Regions from separate parts of the Homo sapiens genome. Here regions 1, 2, 3, 4 and 6 are each linked to region 5. The links are contacts of gene promoters, found by promoter capture Hi-C in blood cells and fetal thymus (Javierre and others, 2016). All regions are on one chromosome and are shown on one strand. Each heading gives the region's core, a stretch centred on a gene start or on the middle of the fragment in contact. The rest is flanking DNA. Distances are from core to core; before and after follow the strand shown. Region 1 has its middle 50 kb from the start of LINC03133. Region 2 has its middle 1.7 kb from the start of LINC03133. Region 3 overlaps LOC105375855 (a long non-coding RNA gene). Region 4 overlaps UBXN2B (UBX domain protein 2B). Region 5 holds the start of FAM110B (family with sequence similarity 110 member B). Region 6 overlaps LINC03133 (long intergenic non-protein coding RNA 3133).

Region 1 (3,116 bases), core at 64-2,563, 330 kb before region 5:
TTTTTATGGCTGCATAGTATTCCATGGTGTATATGTGCCACATTTTCTTAATCCAGTCTATCATTGTTGGACATTTGGCTTGGTTCCAAGTCTTTGCTATTGTGAATAATGCCGCAATAAACATACGTGTGCATGTGTCTTTATAGCAGCATGATTTATAGTCCTTTGGGTATATACCCAGTAATGGGATGGCTGGGTCAAATGGTATTTCTAGTTCTAGATCCCTGAGGAATCGCCACACTGACTTCCACAATGGTTGAACTAGTTTACAGTCCCACCAACAGTGTAAAAGTGTTCCTATTTCTCCACATCCTCTCCAGCACCTGTTGTTTCCTGACTTTTTAATGATTGCCATTCTAACTGGTGTGAGATGATATCTCATTGTGGTTTTGATTTGCATTTCTCTGATGGCCAGTGATGGTGAGCATAAAACAAAACTTAAATACAGTATTTTTCCAAGAAAAAAACAGTTGACAAGATAAATCTATAAAACATTATAAATATCAAAGTAATAACTTTTGTTCTGTTTTATTTCTTGGCTCCTATATATGATTAATAATTAACTTTTATACTAAATATAATTTCCTGTATCAAGCCATTATGAAATGACAGTCTTTTTCTTCCTTCCTTCCAGGTTTGATAATAGAACTTCAGTCAGAGGCAGCTTTAAACATCTACTCACATAAGTATTCAATTAAATGGATGCTGTGACACAAGTTACATGGTACTATAAGACAACTAGATTTTATGTAGGTCAGAATTGATAAGAATCTTGGATTACCAAATCAATATCTGTTGTAGATTTTACCTTCTAGGATCAGTAATGGAATACATTGGCTTCCCAGAGTTTCCAATGAAGGTTGTAACCAGCTGTTCTGGTTAATTATGTCCTTTTTATGTCTAAGAGAGATAGGATGCTAAAGCTTTAACCTCAAATTAATTTTTGCACCTTTCCAATCACACCAGGACAAAAGGTTGAATTTTATGCAAATTTAGTGCATCGGTATACTAGATCAAACATATTTTCATATCGTTTGAAATGCAGATTTGCCGGACTTTTACTTTACAGCTCTCTTTTTATATGAGGCTTTTAACTGCACACTCTCCTTGGTTCATTTCTCATATGTGCTTTTGGGTCAATTACAACCCTGCCTCACTGCTTGCCTTGTTCTCTGGCAGCAAGATAAACACTGAACAGAGCCTTTTATCTTTGCAGGGCCTCTCCAGATACAGCACTAGAATGACTTTTCTCTCTTCAATGTATTATTTATGGGATTTTAAGTTATTCTTTCTTCGGTGTGAAACCAAAACTTTCTTGTGCACTGCAGCAGATGCGGCAGTAAGTACACATGATTACCCATCTTCCTGTGATTTAGTCTGTGGTACTTCCTTTGGCTAACCACTTTCAGCTGTTATTTTCTGCAGCTAGCATGATGAACTTGGGTTTACAGAACCTTGAGACTGAGGAAAATTTTAAACTCAGGCATATTGAAGGGTGACAACTTTTTTGGACAGAGGCTGTTTATGGTAACAACAATTACAGATCTATTTCCACTTGCATACGATTGCTCATGCTGCCTTCTGCTTTCTGGTGAATGTTCCCTAGATGGTGCTTCTCACGACTGTCCATCACCCAACTTCCTCAGAGTCATCCTGGGTGTTTGGTCCACACCCTGCACCAGGTCTTTGGGGTTGAAGCTTGGAATTTGCATTTTAAACAAGCATCCAAAGTGGTTCCCATGCATACAAAAGTTTCAGAACCAGTTCCTTGAGGGGAGATTTTTTTTTTTTTGAGACGGAGTCTCGCTCTGTTGCCCAGGTTGGAGTACAGTGGCCCAATCTTGGCTCACTGCAAGCTCCGTCTCCTGGGTTCATGCCATTCTCCTGCCTCAGCCTCCCGAGTAGCTGGGACTACAGGCATCTGACACCATACCCAGCTAAGTTTTTGTATTTTTTAGTAGAGACAGGGTCACCGTGTTAGCCAGGATGGTCTCAATCTCCTGACCTCGTGATCTGCCCACCTCAGCCTCCCAAAGTGCTGGGATTACAGGTGTGCGCCACCACGCCCGGCCGAGGGGAGATATTTTAAGATCCAAATTGGCAAAATATTTAGTAATTAAATCTATGATCTGATGAATTCATATATTAGATGATTTAGCATTAAATTTCACTAGAACTTTGCATATATACCTATTTTACTTTGTTGCAGTAAAGTTTTTTGCAGCCTGGGCCAAAGATTTCAATTTGAATTAGCAGCCACACCATTTCCCTACTTTTAAAATGGATGTAGCAAAGCCACCTTTATGGTGCAGGTCCTTCCTTTTAGGATCATCCGTTTTCTGGACCAAATTATTATTGTATTTGTTGCAAGTGGTCATGGCATTGTCTCTCTTGGATCTGAGACTGATGATGTCTCCTGGGCTTCTTGTAACTTTCTGCAGATATTCTTGCTTATATTGAAATAATAAATAGGATCTTCCAATGGATGTTCTGATTCCCTGATATGACAAAGGAATTGCTTTGGACATTTAGCAGGCTCCACACTGCTTCCTGGCTTACTTTCTAGACAGTGCAGGGTCAGAAGCCTAAATTGGCCACTCACTTTCTAGTTGGTCTCCTTACTGGTGCTCTTACTCCCAACAATCATTTTCAGTGTAGCAACAAGAGTGTTCCTTAAAAGTATGATTCCAATCATGCCATTTCCTTGCTCAATACCCCCTAATAACTTCCCATAGCAGATGCTCTGTTGCACTGACCAGATGTCTTTAGGGCTGAAGCACCAGTTTTTCCAGATACCCATTTTTGGGGCTGAAGCACTAATTCTTCCAGATGATAGGACTGTTGACAGTCTTCTGCTAAGTCTTTCTTTAGGACCTGCCTCTCTTGAAGAGAGTTGTCTCACCCATGGTTTCCTTCATGGCAGCTCACACCTATTGATGGTCGATGCAAGTATATATGGCCTGCAGTGAATTGGATGTTCTAACTTCAGAGCTCCCAGAGGGAGAGGCTGTGTCACAGTTCAACTTCTTCCTCTGCTAAATCTTGCTTCCTTCACACTTCTGTAGGTATAGATGCCTGAGATCCCGTCTCAAAAACTCCCTGCCCATACATTTTCA
Region 2 (3,240 bases), core at 597-3,096, 280 kb before region 5:
TTTATGACTTAGAATAGGAATACATAGAGAACCATAACAATTGTCACTGCACTCAAACTATTTTCTGCAATTACCAACGGAAATAACAAAAACACTAGGAAACACATTTTCATCAAAATAGCAGATTTTTTTCTTTGTGAGCTGTAATTAGTCCCTGTGCCAATTTCCATTATCTGAATTGCATGCTAGATGATAGGCATTTTTTTTTCTTTCTTCTTTTTTTTTTGGTGAGAGGAAAATGAATGTATTAGCTCATAAACACATCCTGACCAGATTACAAATTAATTCCTCTGGAATTTATCAGTAAATAAGCAGTCTTTCCAAAAAAGAAGTCTATTTGTCCAGAAATGTTTACTTGGAAACATTAGTGTCCACTCTTCACATATCTACTTATATTTTTTGTGTATGTCTTAGCCCCTGCAATATCATGAAGAATTATACCTTCTCTCAATGTAATACACATGCCTTGCATGGTAACAGTAGTCATTTCAGGTAAATTAATTATTCCATTGCATGGCCAAGTGCGGTATAATCCCAGCACTTCGGGAGGCCGCAGTGGGTGGATCACTTGAGGCCAGAAGTTTGAGACCAGCATGGCCAACATGGTGAAACTCCGTCTCTACTAAAAATACAAGAAAATTAGCCAGCCATGGTGGTGCGTGCCTGTAATCTCAGCTACTCGAGAGGCTGAGGCACGAGAATCATTTGAACCCAGGAGGCAGAAGTTGCAGTGAGCCAATATCACACCACAGCACTCCAGCACAGGTGACAGAGCGAGACTCCGTTTCAAAGAAAAAAAAGAAAAAAAATTATTCCATTCCAGTAAACTAGAATATATAATCAATGTGGAAATTTTTGATTCCTTTCAAAATGTGTACACAAATGCTGATACTCCAGTCACACTTTTTACACTTTACTTTTTTTCACTTAAAAACACTGTACATTATGGCAATTGCTCCAAGTCAGTGTATATAGAATTGCTGTCTGCACAGTATTCCATTATTTGGAGAAACCACTGATACATCTAACCAATTTCTTACTGAGGGATGTTTATTATGTTGCCTGTTCTTGCTATGGCAAACCACGCTTCAAAGACTATTCTTTTCCATATTATTTTATACATGAATGAGTATATCTGCAGGCTAACTTCTTAACAGCCCTCCAGCAGCGATTCACACCCTTCTCTCACATGGAAATCACGCAGGCATCTGAGAAATACTAATGGCTGGGTTCCACCTCAAAGATTCAGATTGTCGCCTGGGCATTGGGAACTTTAAAGGTCTTCAGGTGATGCTAAGGGTTGAAAACCTTTGCCTTCAAGAGCCATCAGCTGCCCAGGTCCTGGCTCTGCCAAGAAGGATCTGTGTATCTCTGCCCTGCAAAAGCCAGGGAGCTCCCTCACTGAACTGTTGTCCACCTGACAAGTAAGAACCCGTGTGTCGTGGTAATTTTTTTTTTTGAGGCAGAGTCTCACTCTGTCACCCAGGCTGGAGTGCAGTGGTATGATCTCGTCTCACTGCAACCTCCGCCTCCTGGGTTCAAGCGATTGTCCTGCCTTAGCCTCTTGAGTAGCTGGGACTACAGGCACGTGCCACCATGCCTGGCTAATTTTTCTATTTTTATTTTAGTAGAGACGGGGTTTTGCCATGTTGGCCAGGCTGGTCTCAAACTCCTGACCTCTGGTGATCTAGCCACCTCAGCCTCCTGAAGTGTTGGGATTACAGACGTGAGCCACTGTGCCCGGCTGTGTCATGGTAATTCTAAATTGCATTTCTCTTATGACAAATGCAGTTGAAAATATTATATGTCTAAGACCATTCACACTTGCTTTTTTTGTGAGCTATTTCTTATTTGGGTCATTATACTGTTGTTCTTTCTCTTTATAAATTAAAGAAATTAGCTCCTTGTGGAAGGAAGTTTTGTTTGTTCATTTTTGTTTCATTTGTCATTGTCTTAACTTTTTTTGTGACATTTTTCTCTATGAGAAATAGTTTTATGTTATCAAGTTTATCAAAAAGTCCTGGCTTCTGAGTTGTGCATCAGACTGAGAAAGATCCTCCTTAGTCTGAGATTATTAGTATTTTTTTAATTTTATGACTTCTTCTAGAATTTTAAAGGTTTCATTTTTGACATTTAAACTTTTACTCATCGAAAACTGTGACATTTATTTTGGCATCAGTTGTGTGGTATGGATCCAACTTTATTATTTTTTCTAGATGCTCAAACACCATAAACTGAATTATTAATCCTCTCATTGATTTGAAATGCTACTTTCATCATATACTAAATTACTATATATACCAGTTCCATACTATTTTTTATTATATTAGAGAACAATGATAGAAATTTGTAATATGTTATAATAAATTATCCCTTATTACTCTTGCTTTTTAGAAATGTTCTGGTTTTTATGCTTTATAGTTTTCATTATTAATTTTAGAACCAGCTTTTCTAGTTCCAGAACAATCCTATTGTATTTTTATGGGGGATTATGTTGAATTCACTTAATTAGAACTGAGCACACATTCCATCATGGCCCACCTCCCGCTGACTTCTACCCTCATTTCTGTTTTCCCCCTTTTACTGAAAATTCCAGCTCTAACAGTATCCTTGAAGTTCTACAGACACATCATGTTCCATCTTTATCTTTCAATCAGCTGAGAGGCTTGGAGATAGGCTCACGGAACCCTCCCCTCTCCCAGCACCCTTCCCAGGTCGATGCCTACCCTCCCACTATCAGCTTAGATCTTCTCAGAAGACTTGGCAATTCCCCAAGGGCACCCTAACACATTGTGTTGCAACTGCCCGTTCACTGGTGTGAGAGAGGAAGGTCAAAATGTGCGTGCTCAGACTCAGGGGCAAAAAAATCATCAAGTGAAACTTTTTCTGTAAAGGACCTCATGTTATTTTAAAATTCTCATGTCACCTACAAATGGGTGGAAGAAAACCCTTGAAATTGCTATCCCGTGTATCACTTTTAATTTAAAAAATCTTGAAAATATTTAGTCAATTCAAAGCTCCATCTCCCTTCAGAGCTGCCTCTGGTCTCTCAGGGTTCTTCTCTTCAGGATCTCCTTGTCTCCCACAAGGCATCTGAGCCTAGGAGCACTTTGTGGTTGTAGCAAAAGGGGTCTCTGTTCTGAATCCTGCCTCTTCTGGGCATCCTTTGTTGTCCCTTGAGGTGTGGCTGGTGCCTTCTGCATGGTTTGAGCCTTGTGCTGGGGCTCAGTGCTGACTGTG
Region 3 (3,201 bases), core at 316-2,815, 500 kb after region 5:
TGGATAACTGCACATAAGGTCCTCTGTGTGCAGATACATTTGACTGTTGTTTTGTTTATTGTTTAATTTGTTTTGGTTTGTTTCTACTATCAAGGAACTTAAAATAAATCAAATTATAAATAGATAACTCCAGAAAGAAAGATAAGTAGCATATAGAATGTGGAAGTGGTGAGAAGACATGAGTCAGTCAAGAAAGCTCCTAGCTCCTTGGAGGAAAAGTATGTTGATTAGAATTCAAATAAAATAGAAGAGAAAGACTTCTGGTTTTAAAGTAACACAAAAGCACAGATTTTGCACCCTCCTGTCTTAGAATTATCTCAATGCAGTAAGTATACAGAACAGGATCTCCGACTTCAATAAAACTGGAGACATTTGTTACTTCAAACTATAATATGTAAAGCAAGTAAAGAAGTAGAAACTGAGTTAGCAGTGTGCAAAAAAAAAAAAAAGGAAATGTAAGTCTTGCAGAGAGGAAGACTGTTATAAAACAAATAATTAAACTCATGAAATTTGTTTAGTCTTGGGAATTGGAAGCACATATACCATGGAAGGTGGAGTGAAGCAAGGGCTGGAAACGGCAATTGGTTGAAATTCTATGTGAGGGTTGGTTTTTTTCCCACCCCAGTCTGCACAGTCAGCAAGGAGAACCAAGTGATACATGGACAGCGGGAGGAAAAAAATCAATAAAAAATTCAACAATATTTGATCCAAAGGTATTATAGCAGAAGAAAGAGAATACAGAACATTGGAAAGAAAATTTCCAGTGAAATAATTAAAGAAAATTACCAACATTGAAAGTATGACTGACTCATGAAATTTTAGAACACTGGGGATAAATAAAACTCTGAGTGTTGATAGAGAGAATAATAAATAAATACCACAAAATGAGCTTTGGAAATAAGAAAGACGTTCAACTTCTTAGTAGAATATTGGATGCTAGTAGATGATTGAGTCATATCATTAAATTCTTAGTGAAAATAATTTTCAAACTAAAATTGCTACTCACCTGTGAATGAAGCTGAGCTATCAGACCAGCAATGTGTAAAACATTGAACCTCTCATCCTCCTGTTCCTTTTCTCAGGAATCTACCAGGGCATATGCTCTCTCACTGACCTGATCAAATAAAAACAAGGTAAAATGAGAACAGCCTGGTGTTCAGGAGCTGAAGAATAAACACCGAGCAGAAAGCGAGGGGGCCCGCAGGGCACTGGAATGACAGACTCTAGCATCACTGTGCGGTGGCCCAGAGCACTGACACTCAGGCTTTCTGTGGAGAAGGAACCATTTTTGTTTTGTTTTATTTTCCATCCCACCAGAGGCAGATACTTTTGTAAGACAATAAAAATAAATTTTGAGAAAATCGTCTTGATTTAGGGTAATGAGACAATATCAATTGCTATAAAAATTTCTAAAACTTAATTTCTGTACTGATTTTATTATGGTTGGGGGCAAACAGTCCTCTCACTGGAACTGGCATGAACATATTACTGAAAATATGAAAGTCAGTGCCAGGAAACCCATAGGTAAAGCGATGCCACTGGGGATAGGATGGAGAGTAAGAAAGGGCTGGCAGGAATGAGGCAGGGGCCACATGTATTTTTCGTATATGACGTTTGTCCCATTAAATGTCAGCTATGAACATGTATTTTGCCAAAATTAAAATTAAAAAAGAAAAAGACTACAAATAGGAGGGAAATATGCTGGGGTAGTGGGAAATAGGTCAAGCTGCTTGAATGGCAAGGCAAGCTGCAGAAACTGATGAAAGTCAGAAAGAGCTACAACTTGGAGGAAGGCCTATGGGTAGTGGGTTGTGTGTGACTAGGGTTGAAAATCCAGGAAGATAAGAGAAAAAATTTAATCACTAATTTTTTCAACAAAGATTTAGGGAATGTCTACTACAGGCTAGGCACTAGGAAACAGAATGGGGGAAAATATTCTTGCTCTTTGGGATTTGTCTCTTTTGGAGATACTTCCATTTATGTCCATTGCTTTTTTGCTCATTTTTCCATCAGGTTACAATTTCATCAGGTTGTAATTCTGGAGATTACAACCCAGTTGTGGGAGTCTGACTATAAACAGGTAAGTAAGTAAATGATGTCTATGTTAAGTGCTACTAAAGGAAGATGGGGTAGAACCATGATTCTGTACGCAAGTGATGCTATAGCTTTGCACCCACAGCCAGAGAGTTTTACCTCTCTTTCTATGAAGCCTAAGAAGGAAAGAGGTTCCGGGAAGGTATAGGAAACATGTTTTTATGAAATGGGCATGCTTGGTTTAGTACTCCAGCTTCAGGACCTCAGCTGCAACTGATATCATAAATTGAAGTCAAGGGAGTCTTTAAAGTTTAGCCTCTTATAATCCAGCAGGACAGAGTTCCTGCGTCACACACACAAAATCAATATTTTCAGTGTAAAATCTGATGAGAATATCATCACTGAGAGTAGATGAGAAAGGAACTGAAGATGCCCCTAGATGGCAGGCTTGCCCAGGAAACCAAGGAAAAAAAGGTAGCCATGACGTCTGGAGGGGACTTTCGGAGCCAGATCACTGCTTTATCCCCCTTTCTCTTCCAGCAGTTTTGGAAAGGAAGAGATAGAGATTGTGCAGAAGAGAGAGGTAGAGATTATTTTTTGATCACTCAATTTGTGACAGCCACTGTCGGGCACTCTGCATAGATTTTCTCATTTAATCTCGCAGCCCTTTAGACTGGTATTATTTCCTTCAGTTCAGAAGTAAGTAAACTAACAATAAAATGGTAAGTGACTAGGTGAGGAAAAATATCCAACATCTGAAAACAAGAACTCAAACCCAGGTCTGTATGTATCTGGCATGGGAACGGAGGAGGTGAGACTTCCTTGATCAGGAAGGAGGCAGAGGCTCTGGGCTGAGGAGAAAGGTGAAGAACTTGAAGGGAGAAAGGTCATGAATCTCTGAAAGGTGCTCTGAGATCTGAACTCACTCATTATTTTTTCTCCATAAAGTCTTGTAACATGAGTTCTAGCAGGTTATATGACAGTGTTGGTGGATGAAGACGATAGAAGGGCAGGGATATTCATTTGCTGGGGCGCCATAGCAAAGTGCCACAGACTAAGTGGCTTAAAACTAGAGATTTATTTTATCATAGTTCTGGAGGTTAAACATCCAAGATGAAAGCATTGGCAAGGTTGTTTCTTTCTGAGGGCTTTCTCCTTGGCTTCTAG
Region 4 (3,048 bases), core at 157-2,656, 450 kb before region 5:
TCAAATCTCAGGTAAGTGAGAGTGGCAAGCACAATCTTTTGAAGAGAACAGTAGGACAAACAGGCAGTGACTGTTCTTCTGCAGAAACATCAGCTTCAAATCATGATTTTTATCATTATACACGCCAGCTCAAAAGCCTACCAAGAATGCCTACTCGCTAGTCCTCCCTATTAAAAATGACTCTGTGATTTTGTTAGGCACTACTCTAGCTCACCAAGCTAATTTTTACTCAATAATACAGTTTGTTCTACCATTGCAAATTTGCAGTTTTATATCTATGGTTTGCTTTCTTCTATTATGTGAGGGTACTATGTAACATTTTTACAGCATTTTGGTTTGCACCATAATTGTATATCACATGAAAAGATTTAGTTCCCATCTATGTAACATTCTGTGTGTAATTAGACTGCCATCTATGGAAGACAATAGATTATTTTCATTTCTGTTTTACTTGCTTCTTTTTATTTCCTGCTCAGTAAATAATTGTCTTGAACTCTTGAGAACCAAGCCATTTTAGAAAGTTACTTTCTAAATGAAGGTTAACTATTAAACTTTTAATATATTTCTTAATGTAAATCTTTAATATAAAATGTTCTATGTAATTCTTCACTTTAGAATATATGATATTTGCTTATTCAACATTTGGGTTTGTGAACACATAGGCTCACATCATCATGCTATCTCCTTCTACTAGAAGCTGAAAATTCTAAAGACTCCATCTCCCAGACTCTCTTGCAGCTAGGATTTCATGATTCTACCCTTCCACCAAACAAACATACACTTGTTTGGTGGAAGTAAGCACTGCAAAGTGGAAACTCTGTAGCTCTTGTGGTTACTAAGGTGGTGGAGGCATTTATTTCTTCGATGATGGAATGTTCTAGTATCTAGTCCCTAGTTTCATGGGCACCAAGCACCTGACTAGGGGACATAGTTGTTTTCTCTGGAACACTCTTCCACTGTGTTTGTTTCTCCTGGCTAAGGAAAGCTTGGTTTGCTTGCCTCTTCCAGATATTCTATAAACTACACAAGATCCTGTAAGAAACCTATTACTACCAGCAAGTAGATTCTGTTTTCCATAATCAAAATCTTGATCAATATGGCTAGTAAATTAACATGGCATTATTACCACTGATCTCTGTCACTTTCTTCCATCAGTTTCTCCTTTCTTTTCTGTTATTTTCTCTATTTGCCTTATAAGGAAAATGACTGGCCTTTGTGAATACTATCATCAGATAATATCGTTATTTTCATGAGTTTAATAATCACTGGCTCTTCTTAGCTGCCTTCCCTTTATGCTACCTTCTTCAATTCCAAGTCTAGATTTACTGTAGGTCTACTAACAAGGATGTGCGGTCCAACATTAATTCTTGGTCATACATTTAAATAATAGAGAAGGAATATGTATATATTGAAGAGATGACTAGGCATTTTATCTGCATTCTAATTAAAAATCGTAATCTCAATAAATATTAAGTAAAAATGGGAAGTGATACAAAATTAAGAACATACATACATACTATATATACACATACATACATATATATACACATACATATATATATATATATATATGTTGATCACAACAAGAGGAGTAAAAACATAATATTATACAATTTGAGAGAAGCCTGGCCAGGCATAGTGGCTCATGCCTGTAACCCAGGCACTTTGGCAGGCCAAGGCAGAAGAACAGCTTGAGGCCAGGAATTCAAGACCAGCCTGGGCAACATAGTAAGACACGTGTCTCTACAAAACCTAAAAATGAAAAAAAATGAGCTGCGCTCGGCAGTGCCTATAGTCCCAGTCAGGAGAGTGGGGTAGGAAGCTTGCCTGAGCCCAGGAGGTCAAGGCTGCAGTGAACTATGACTACACCACTGTACTCCAGTCTGGGCAACAGAGCAAGACCCCATCTCAAAAAAAAAAAAAGAGAAAGAAAGAGAAGCCTGACGTGTAAAGAGAGACGAGGGAGAAAATTTCCAAGTAAACCTGTGACCTAAAATTAAAGAGTTTGTGTCCTAAGAAAAACAGGTCAACATAAATTCCTGTATTTCCTTTATGTCCCCAGTGCCAGTCTCTATCAGGAGAAGAGAATACAGAAAGGGAGACTAGAGATAGCAAAGCATAAAGAAGCAATATTGAATTTTTTCCTATCTTGAAAAATAAGGGGAGAATAGACAACCAGTGTACACGAGGCAACTGAAGGGGGCTTGGAAGGGAAGGAATCACATGAAGAGAAGCAAAGGATGCACCAAAGAATACACTGGAAACATTGCCAATGTGGCAATTCCATATCACCTGCAACAATATGTGGACGAGTAGAGGGTAACTTTTACCAACATATTTTAAATTTCTAAGATTACATTAAGCCATGGGTATTATAAAGGAAACCACTCATACATTCTGCCATGTGCGTTGGTTTTTAAATTGTGCTCTTCAAAGTCCTAAGGTTCTTTGGAAATGTCTCAGATACAATGCCTTCTTTCACCGACAATCAGAGGAGCTCAGGTTTTACATATTGCACTTCCATGACTTGAAAAAAGGGTTTGGCTGTTTAAAAACTATTGAAAATCACAAAGCTAAGCACATTGCTCCTGCTGCAAGAGTTTGGTCATTACTGATGGCAGACATGCATGCTTAAGTTGTGATGTAAGGTATCCATTATTTTATCTCATCGACAACCCTTTACAATTCTCTCCTTTGAAACCAGGTAATCTGAAAGAGGCATATAATATAGTGGTGAAAAGCACAAACTCTGTAGTCAGAGTGCCTGGGTTTGAATCCCACATGCTAGTCATTTCTTAGCTCAACAATCTTGGGCAAATTACTGCATCTGCAAAATGAAGTAATAACAGTATCTACATCAAAGAGCTGTTGTAAAGATTAAGTGAGATAACACATGTATACGGCTTAGAGGGCCACAAACATGGTAACTGCAATCTAAGTATTAATTACAGTATTATTAATATCACAATTAATATTATGATATAATGGTATCACATGATATAATATTATGATATAATATTAACAGATGTATATATCTAATGTGCATGG
Region 5 (2,973 bases), core at 372-2,871:
CCATTAACTCACCTTTATTCTAGAATAACTATGCTTAATAAATAGCTTACCTGAATGACCAGGGGTTGTGATGTCACAAAAATGAGTACAAGAAATTAATACAAGTATCTTCCCAGAAATCACTACGTGTAAACTGGGGGGAAAATAATAAATACCTTCTTCACCAACAAAGGAAACGAAGAAAATGGAAGTCCTACTATCCATACTGCAAAAATGCTTATTCTACTATCATATTCCCTTTTGAGAAATAGACCAGTTACGCCAGAAGTGCAATGTTGTCACAGATGTGTGCCAGATTTTGCAGAGGACATAAGTTGGCTGTGAGGAAGAACACAGAGGTTGCCTATTTTTTAGGCAGGAAAGAAAGCCTGCACTTTTCTGTGTGTGTGTGTCAATAAATCTGAATAACAACTTGAAAGGGTTAAAAAGCTGAGCACCAGGTGTTTTCTTTCCACTTTCCAGAGTAATTTAAGCACACTGCAAAGTTATCTCCCTTCCTTCCCCACGAGCCAGCTTAAGGGAGACCTGTCACTGCCATTTACACTGTACAGCTCCAGCTCTAAACAATAGGAGGGCACCAGGCTGGGCAGCAGGCATCGCGGCTTCCCACAGCCTGTATGGGCTTTGTTGCCAAGTTATGAGCTCCGCTGGGTGATGGAGACACGAGTGAGCCAAGGAGAATTTAATTCTATTTCAAATCTGTATGCTTTCAAAGAAAATAGAGACAATTGAGGCCACGGGAGGAGCTGGAGGGGGTAACCAAAAACAAACTTTCGGAACCTCAGAATCTACATTTCTAGCAGTAATTCTCAGCAAAGGATTAGGTGGTATTGATACTCTCATAAAGTATTTAACACCGAGATTAGAGACCATTCAGGAGCGGTGGCCGAGCGGAGTCCCCATCCTTCGTAGTCCCACTCCTCCAGCAGCAACCGGCGGCGCGCTTTCGGAGCCCACCTCCGCTCCGCAGCGCGGCCAGCTTCCCCCCGCCCTGGCTCCAACCCCGGCTCCAGCCCCGGCCCCGTGCCCAGCCTCCTAGCCGAGCCCGGGACGTGCAGCCAAGCCGAGCGCAGAGGGGGCGCGGGGCAGGCAGCGGCGCTGCGCCTCCCCCGGCAGCCCAGAAAGCCGGACGGGGTCCGCCTGGGCCAGTGAGGCCGGGCTCAACGGAGACCCGGGCCGGGCGGGGAAGCTGCAGGCGCAGAGCCGGCTTAGCTCCGCGCCGCCTGGCCGCGCGCAGCTCCCGCATTGTCCGCAGTCGGGGCGCGGCGCGACCACTGAACCCGAATCCCAACCCCCGCCCAGCAGTCTCTCTCCCGGCCCCCACGGCCCAGTCTTACCTGGGCCGCTCACCCCAGTCCCTGGCGGTGCGGCCCGAGCCGGGAGCCAGGCTCCGGGGGACTGCAAGGAGGGAGAGTCGGGGCCCGCGAGGGACGAAGGGCCGAGAGCGGGCTGTAGGGGCCGCCGAGTGTTCACGGTCGCCGCCGCGGGGCCGCGGGTAGAGAGCAGACGGGGCTGGCGGAACGGGCCCAGGACGCGCGGCCGCGAAGGGCCCGGCTGGCGGCGGCCGCGATGGTTCGGTCTGCACCGAGTGGGAGGGCTCAGGCAGGCTTCGCCGGAGAGTGAGGGAGGGAACTTGGAGCCAGTTGCTGTGGCCGAGAGCGCGTGTCCCTGAGCCAGTGTACACGCCCCTCGTACACCCCGCCCCGCCTCCATCCCGCCCCCACCCCACCTTCCGGGTCCCCACCCTTCTCGCACCTCCACTCCAAGCCCTGCCTCTCTCTCAACATCTCCACCCCGCTACTGATGCCCATCCCACCCCATCCCTGACCCACCCCCCATTCCACTCGGTCGGCGCCTCCATTTCCTCCCTATCCCCCACTCCCACCTATGTCCGCACGCAAGCACCCCCACCCTGCTCCCACCCGGTGATACCGCTGGATCTCGGACTGCCACCCCAGTGCAGATCGCTCAGCACTGGAGACGTAGAGCCTGTGCCCTGAATGAGATAACCCCACCTGGTAGTCCAGCCATCCAAACGTCTTGGTGCTTGACATTTTCTGTTTACTAACTTTCATATACTCAGATGGAGCGTCCTAGCTTAATTTCTGAAGGCATTTTTAAGACTTCAAAAAAATGTTTGGAGAAAATAGTAAATAACGAAAAATATCAAGCATGATGTACTACCTCTGAAATGTGGGCCAGCTGATGTTTTAAAATGAAATGCTTTGGGGTGCGTCATTATTAATCGCCTAATATAGTATTTGAGAATACTTTCTGCTTAGATTTGCTTAATAACTTGGTTGTTTCAGGAGAGGATTTGTTTTAGGAAGACTAAACACATTGTAATTTAATTTTGCTATTGGGAAGTCTAAAAGATAAAATCCATCTTTATCAAAATGAATTTGAATGGGATATGGACTCACAAAATAATTGTTTCTTCTAGAAAATATTGAGCAAGGATTTCTTTTTAATCTCTGGTACATTAACAATACGATTTCACTCATCTCATTTTCTCAGAAAGATCGTTTATATTTGAATTGTGCTTCAATTCAATGAATCTATTGTTTCATAATAGTTAAGAAGTTGCCAACTAAATAAAACTCAGACTTTATAATAATATATTTTTTTTCTATTTAAAGATTACCATTTTAAGAAAGTGACATGATACTGGGATTTAAATGGAACTTTCCTTTGGCATACTAATACATTCCTTGTTATCACAGATTACGTTGTGGTCTCCATTAACTCCAAAAGTCATATAACAATAGAAATAAACTATTTTTCATCATTCCCATAGCAAATGGAACCAACTTCTCTCCCTCTCAAGTATACTTTTTTTCCCCACTTCTTTGCCCCAATCCCTTCCTTTTAGGAATTTCCCCCTCCCATTGGGTGTGACTAGCCCACAGAGCTTCCTGACATTGTGAGGGATATGACCCAGGCCAGCCAATTAGAATATCGTCTGAGAACAAA
Region 6 (3,235 bases), core at 76-2,575, 260 kb before region 5:
TGAGAGGCTGACCCAAGGACAAAAGTTTTTTTTTTCTTTTTTCAAAAAAAACATGTATCCTTTACCTCTTATTGGCTGAGAGGATAGCTTTTTGATTGGCCTTTCAAGCTTCTTGATCCATTAGGAATAAAATCTTCAATATGTATAAGGGAAGTGCTAGGACTTGGTGATAAAATAATGCAAGTGAGTGAAGGTCTTGAGTCAGCAATCAGAAGGGCCCTCCTTCTGGGTACAGGCTGAAAATGTAGGAGTTGGGAGTTCTGATACTATCTATCTATGATTGACCTTTGCAGCTGGTGGACCAAATAGATCTGGGAAAGACATTCTTCTCAGACAACTCTCTGCACAATCACTGTAACTTGCTGTGGTCTGTGATCAAACTTTAGGCAAACAGTAGACAATGGAAATGACTGCAGACGTGATCACATGGTCTTTGTGGGTTACAGAAACAGAAGGAGGCTGCTATTTGATTAAGAACTGTAGAAATCTAGCTGCAACCACAAATGCTAACAGTAGCAGGTGAAAGATATTAGCAAAGCATGCATGAATTTGAATAAGATATGGTCGGGAGATGGAACTTAAGCATTAACACAAAGCCTTCCTTATTCCTTCTGGCATCTCCATTTGGGTCAGTTTAGGACTGTGCCAATTTTTCTCAATGGAGCTTTTTAGGATCGCACAAAATTTTCAGTTCGAACAACAAAATCAGTGGTTGTAATTTACCATTTTCAAGGTCACCTATAGAAGGTATTTACTTTCTTCTTTTACTTGAAGTAGGCTCTGTATCCCTGTAAGCAGTTTCATAAGATTTGTCACATTTAATTAGCATTTAGAGTTGAGTTTTAGAAAAATAACAAAAAGATTTTGAAAAGATTACCTTCATTAAAAGTAATATATTAAAAATATATTGTAGAGACATTTTCAAATGGTAAATTTTCAGGTTCAGTCAGAAGCTTGTTTTCCCACAACAAGGAAAAACGGTATTATCGTCATGTGTAAGTGTGGCCCTTTTGTCTTAAAAGACACCAAAACAATTCTGTGTCTACTGCTCTAGTGTGGAGCCCATTAAATTCTCTTTCCAATGTTTTCTAGAAGGCTTTGTTTGAATCTATGTTTATATCTAACTAAGCTGTGGTCTCACATATCATTAGTCTTTTATTGACAATATCAGGCTTCAGGAAAAGTGATCACTCATCACATACACAGTACAACAGCTTAACTGAGGCTGACATAGGAAATATGCAAGGAAACTAGTTCAAGTACAGACAAGCCCATGCCTGTTCTATTAATGGGTGACATTTTAAACAATAGAGCTGTCAAACCCTACTTCGAATAAAGGGGCTTAATCATGGCAGGAATTAGTGCACACGACAGGTGATTATGTGTTGGAATTATGCCAGAACAGGACCAGCTGCAATGCTTCGAATTATTTGTAATCTCAGTAATTACAGCTTTGGGAAAAAAATTATTTGGGATTGGAGAACCCAGAATTGGTGAGAGAAGTAAACAAAAACTACATACAACGTTTTTATTTCCACAATAGAGGTCTCTACAAATGGGAAAAGTTCAACCCACATTATAAATTTAAGTCCATCCCTCTTCTCTGCAATTCAACACCACAGCAATATAATCATGCCTTTTTTTTCCCTTTCTCAAAGTCCAATTATAGTGTCTCCTTGCAAATAAAATAAGCTTTCAGCCATCTACTTACTAATTTGAGCTGAGAATTTTTTCTAAAATTATTTAGGCTGCAATATCTAAAGCCTCTCAGGAAAACATGAGAACCAGCTGGAAAGGCATTTTCCCATGTTCCCACTATTTTGCTATGATAAATACTGTATTTGATTACCTTCTGTTGAAGTTTATAAAAAGAGATCATTCTTTAATGCTGAGGCCATTTGCGGAGAGTGATCCAGTTGGAACCAGTGATTTCGAGAATTCCAGACGTGAGAGACTGGAAAGCAAATCAGAAAAAAGACAAGTGACGAAGTTTTACAGTCAGGAAACAAAATTCTGATCTTTTGTTCTTGTTTACTTTCTATGGCAATGAAGCAGAATGCAAAAATCGGATCTGTCTTAGTTGTTGACCTCTAATTTTATCTACTCATTGTTTTTCAATGGAAATAAAACCTAAGTCCTCCTATTTTCTTTATATCCATATGGTTATTACCACAAAATGTAATCTTGGCACCATAGATTTTTTTTTACACTTTTTTTTGTAACTTTTAATTTAGCAATAGTTTTAAACTTTCAGACATGTTGCAAAAATCGTGTTAGGAAATCACTTATCCCTTTACTCATATTCACCAGTTGTTTATATTTTGTCCCATTGATTTATTATTCTCTTACTAAATATTTATGTATACATATTTTCTGAACCTCTTGAGAGTAATGTAGAGACATTGGGCCCTTTTATTGCTAAATACTTCAGTGTATTTCTTAAGAACAAGGACATTATCTTACATAACCACAGTACAGTTTTCAAAATTGGGAAATTTAACATAGACACATTACCATTAGTCAAGTCACAGAGAAATTTTGCCAGTTATCCCAGAGTGGTGCTTTATAGCTAATTTTATTTTTTCATGCTGAATTGAATCCAGTATTACAATTATACTTTGCTGCCAGGCTGATTTAGCAACCTTTAACCCAAAACACTCCCCAAACTTAAAAGAATCTTTATGAACATTGCCAGTTTGAAGGAGAATTGGGTATTTATTTTACAGAATGTTCCTCATTTTGGGCATGGCTATTTCCTCATGATTAGATTCTTGTTATGTGTATTGTCAGGTATGCGGTGTGTCAGGCACACTGACGTGACACTGAGTCTCTTTCAACACACAGTATCAGGAGGCATATGGATCTGGTTTGTACCAATATCGATGATGTTAACTTTGATTCCTTAATTGAGATGATGTAGTCCATGATCCTCCACTGTAAAGCTACCATTTTTCTCTGTTATTAATATTCTGTGAGGGGGTACTTGGTGCCTCTGTAAATATCTTGTTTCTCATGACCTTTATTGAGTTTTAGCATCCACTGATGATTTTTTAAACTACACCATTCCCTCTACATTTGTTAGTTCATATTCTACTTTAAGGAAGAATTTTTCTATCTATCTTCCACTTATTTGCTCATTTCTTTACTCATTTATTTATGTTAGTACAGACACATAGATCCTTACTTTATTCAATAAGTTATCATTCATTGCATATTTTGATGCCCCAAATTCTCA

What was found. Contacts are between HindIII fragments. The CHiCAGO score rates a contact against its expected background, and 5 or more counts as called.
Region 1: a fragment that was not itself captured here is called in contact with the fragment with the promoter of FAM110B in region 5 in 4 of 17 cell types (M1 macrophages, monocytes, M2 macrophages and 1 more); the score reaches 6.6 in M1 macrophages.
Region 2: a contact is called between a fragment that was not itself captured here and the fragment with the promoter of FAM110B in region 5, in 2 of 17 cell types (M2 macrophages and monocytes). The highest score is 7.1, in M2 macrophages.
Region 3: a fragment that was not itself captured here is called in contact with the fragment with the promoter of FAM110B in region 5 in 1 of 17 cell types (M2 macrophages); the score reaches 5.5 in M2 macrophages.
Region 4: a contact is called between a fragment that was not itself captured here and the fragment with the promoter of FAM110B in region 5, in 1 of 17 cell types (monocytes). The highest score is 5.4, in monocytes.
Region 6: a contact is called between a fragment that was not itself captured here and the fragment with the promoter of FAM110B in region 5, in 1 of 17 cell types (M2 macrophages). The highest score is 7.4, in M2 macrophages.

The regions. Positions count from the first base shown.
Region 1 is chr8:58,320,093-58,323,208 of GRCh38, reverse strand. No RefSeq gene overlaps it. Among named protein-coding and RNA genes, the nearest start is that of LINC03133, 50 kb to the right of the region's middle. RefSeq lists an enhancer at 1,163-1,312. The HindIII fragment of the contact is 775 bases long and covers 926-1,700 here.
Region 2 is chr8:58,272,173-58,275,412 of GRCh38, reverse strand. No RefSeq gene overlaps it. Among named protein-coding and RNA genes, the nearest start is that of LINC03133, 1.7 kb to the right of the region's middle. The HindIII fragment of the contact is 3,834 bases long and covers 1-3,240 here.
Region 3 is chr8:57,490,781-57,493,981 of GRCh38, reverse strand. It overlaps LOC105375855 (a long non-coding RNA gene), which reads right to left. Exons shown (of 3, transcript XR_928920.3): 2 at 1,007-1,114. Among named protein-coding and RNA genes, the nearest start is that of LINC00588, 210 kb to the right of the region's middle. The HindIII fragment of the contact is 3,767 bases long and covers 1-3,201 here.
Region 4 is chr8:58,439,873-58,442,920 of GRCh38, reverse strand. The region is part of intron 6 of UBXN2B (UBX domain protein 2B); the gene reads right to left. Among named protein-coding and RNA genes, the nearest start is that of UBXN2B, 30 kb to the right of the region's middle. The HindIII fragment of the contact is 837 bases long and covers 988-1,824 here.
Region 5 is chr8:57,993,171-57,996,143 of GRCh38, reverse strand. FAM110B (family with sequence similarity 110 member B) reads right to left here and starts at 1,621. Exons shown (of 4, transcript NM_001377989.1): 1 at 1,338-1,621. RefSeq lists an enhancer at 670-1,170 and silencers at 1,175-1,224, 1,245-1,294. The HindIII fragment of the contact is 13,337 bases long and covers 1-2,973 here.
Region 6 is chr8:58,254,606-58,257,840 of GRCh38, reverse strand. It overlaps LINC03133 (long intergenic non-protein coding RNA 3133), which reads left to right. Exons shown (of 8, transcript NR_105005.1): 6 at 1-54; 7 at 673-747; 8 at 1,748-2,070. Among named protein-coding and RNA genes, the nearest start is that of LINC03133, 16 kb to the left of the region's middle. RefSeq lists an enhancer at 279-2,190. The HindIII fragment of the contact is 739 bases long and covers 956-1,694 here.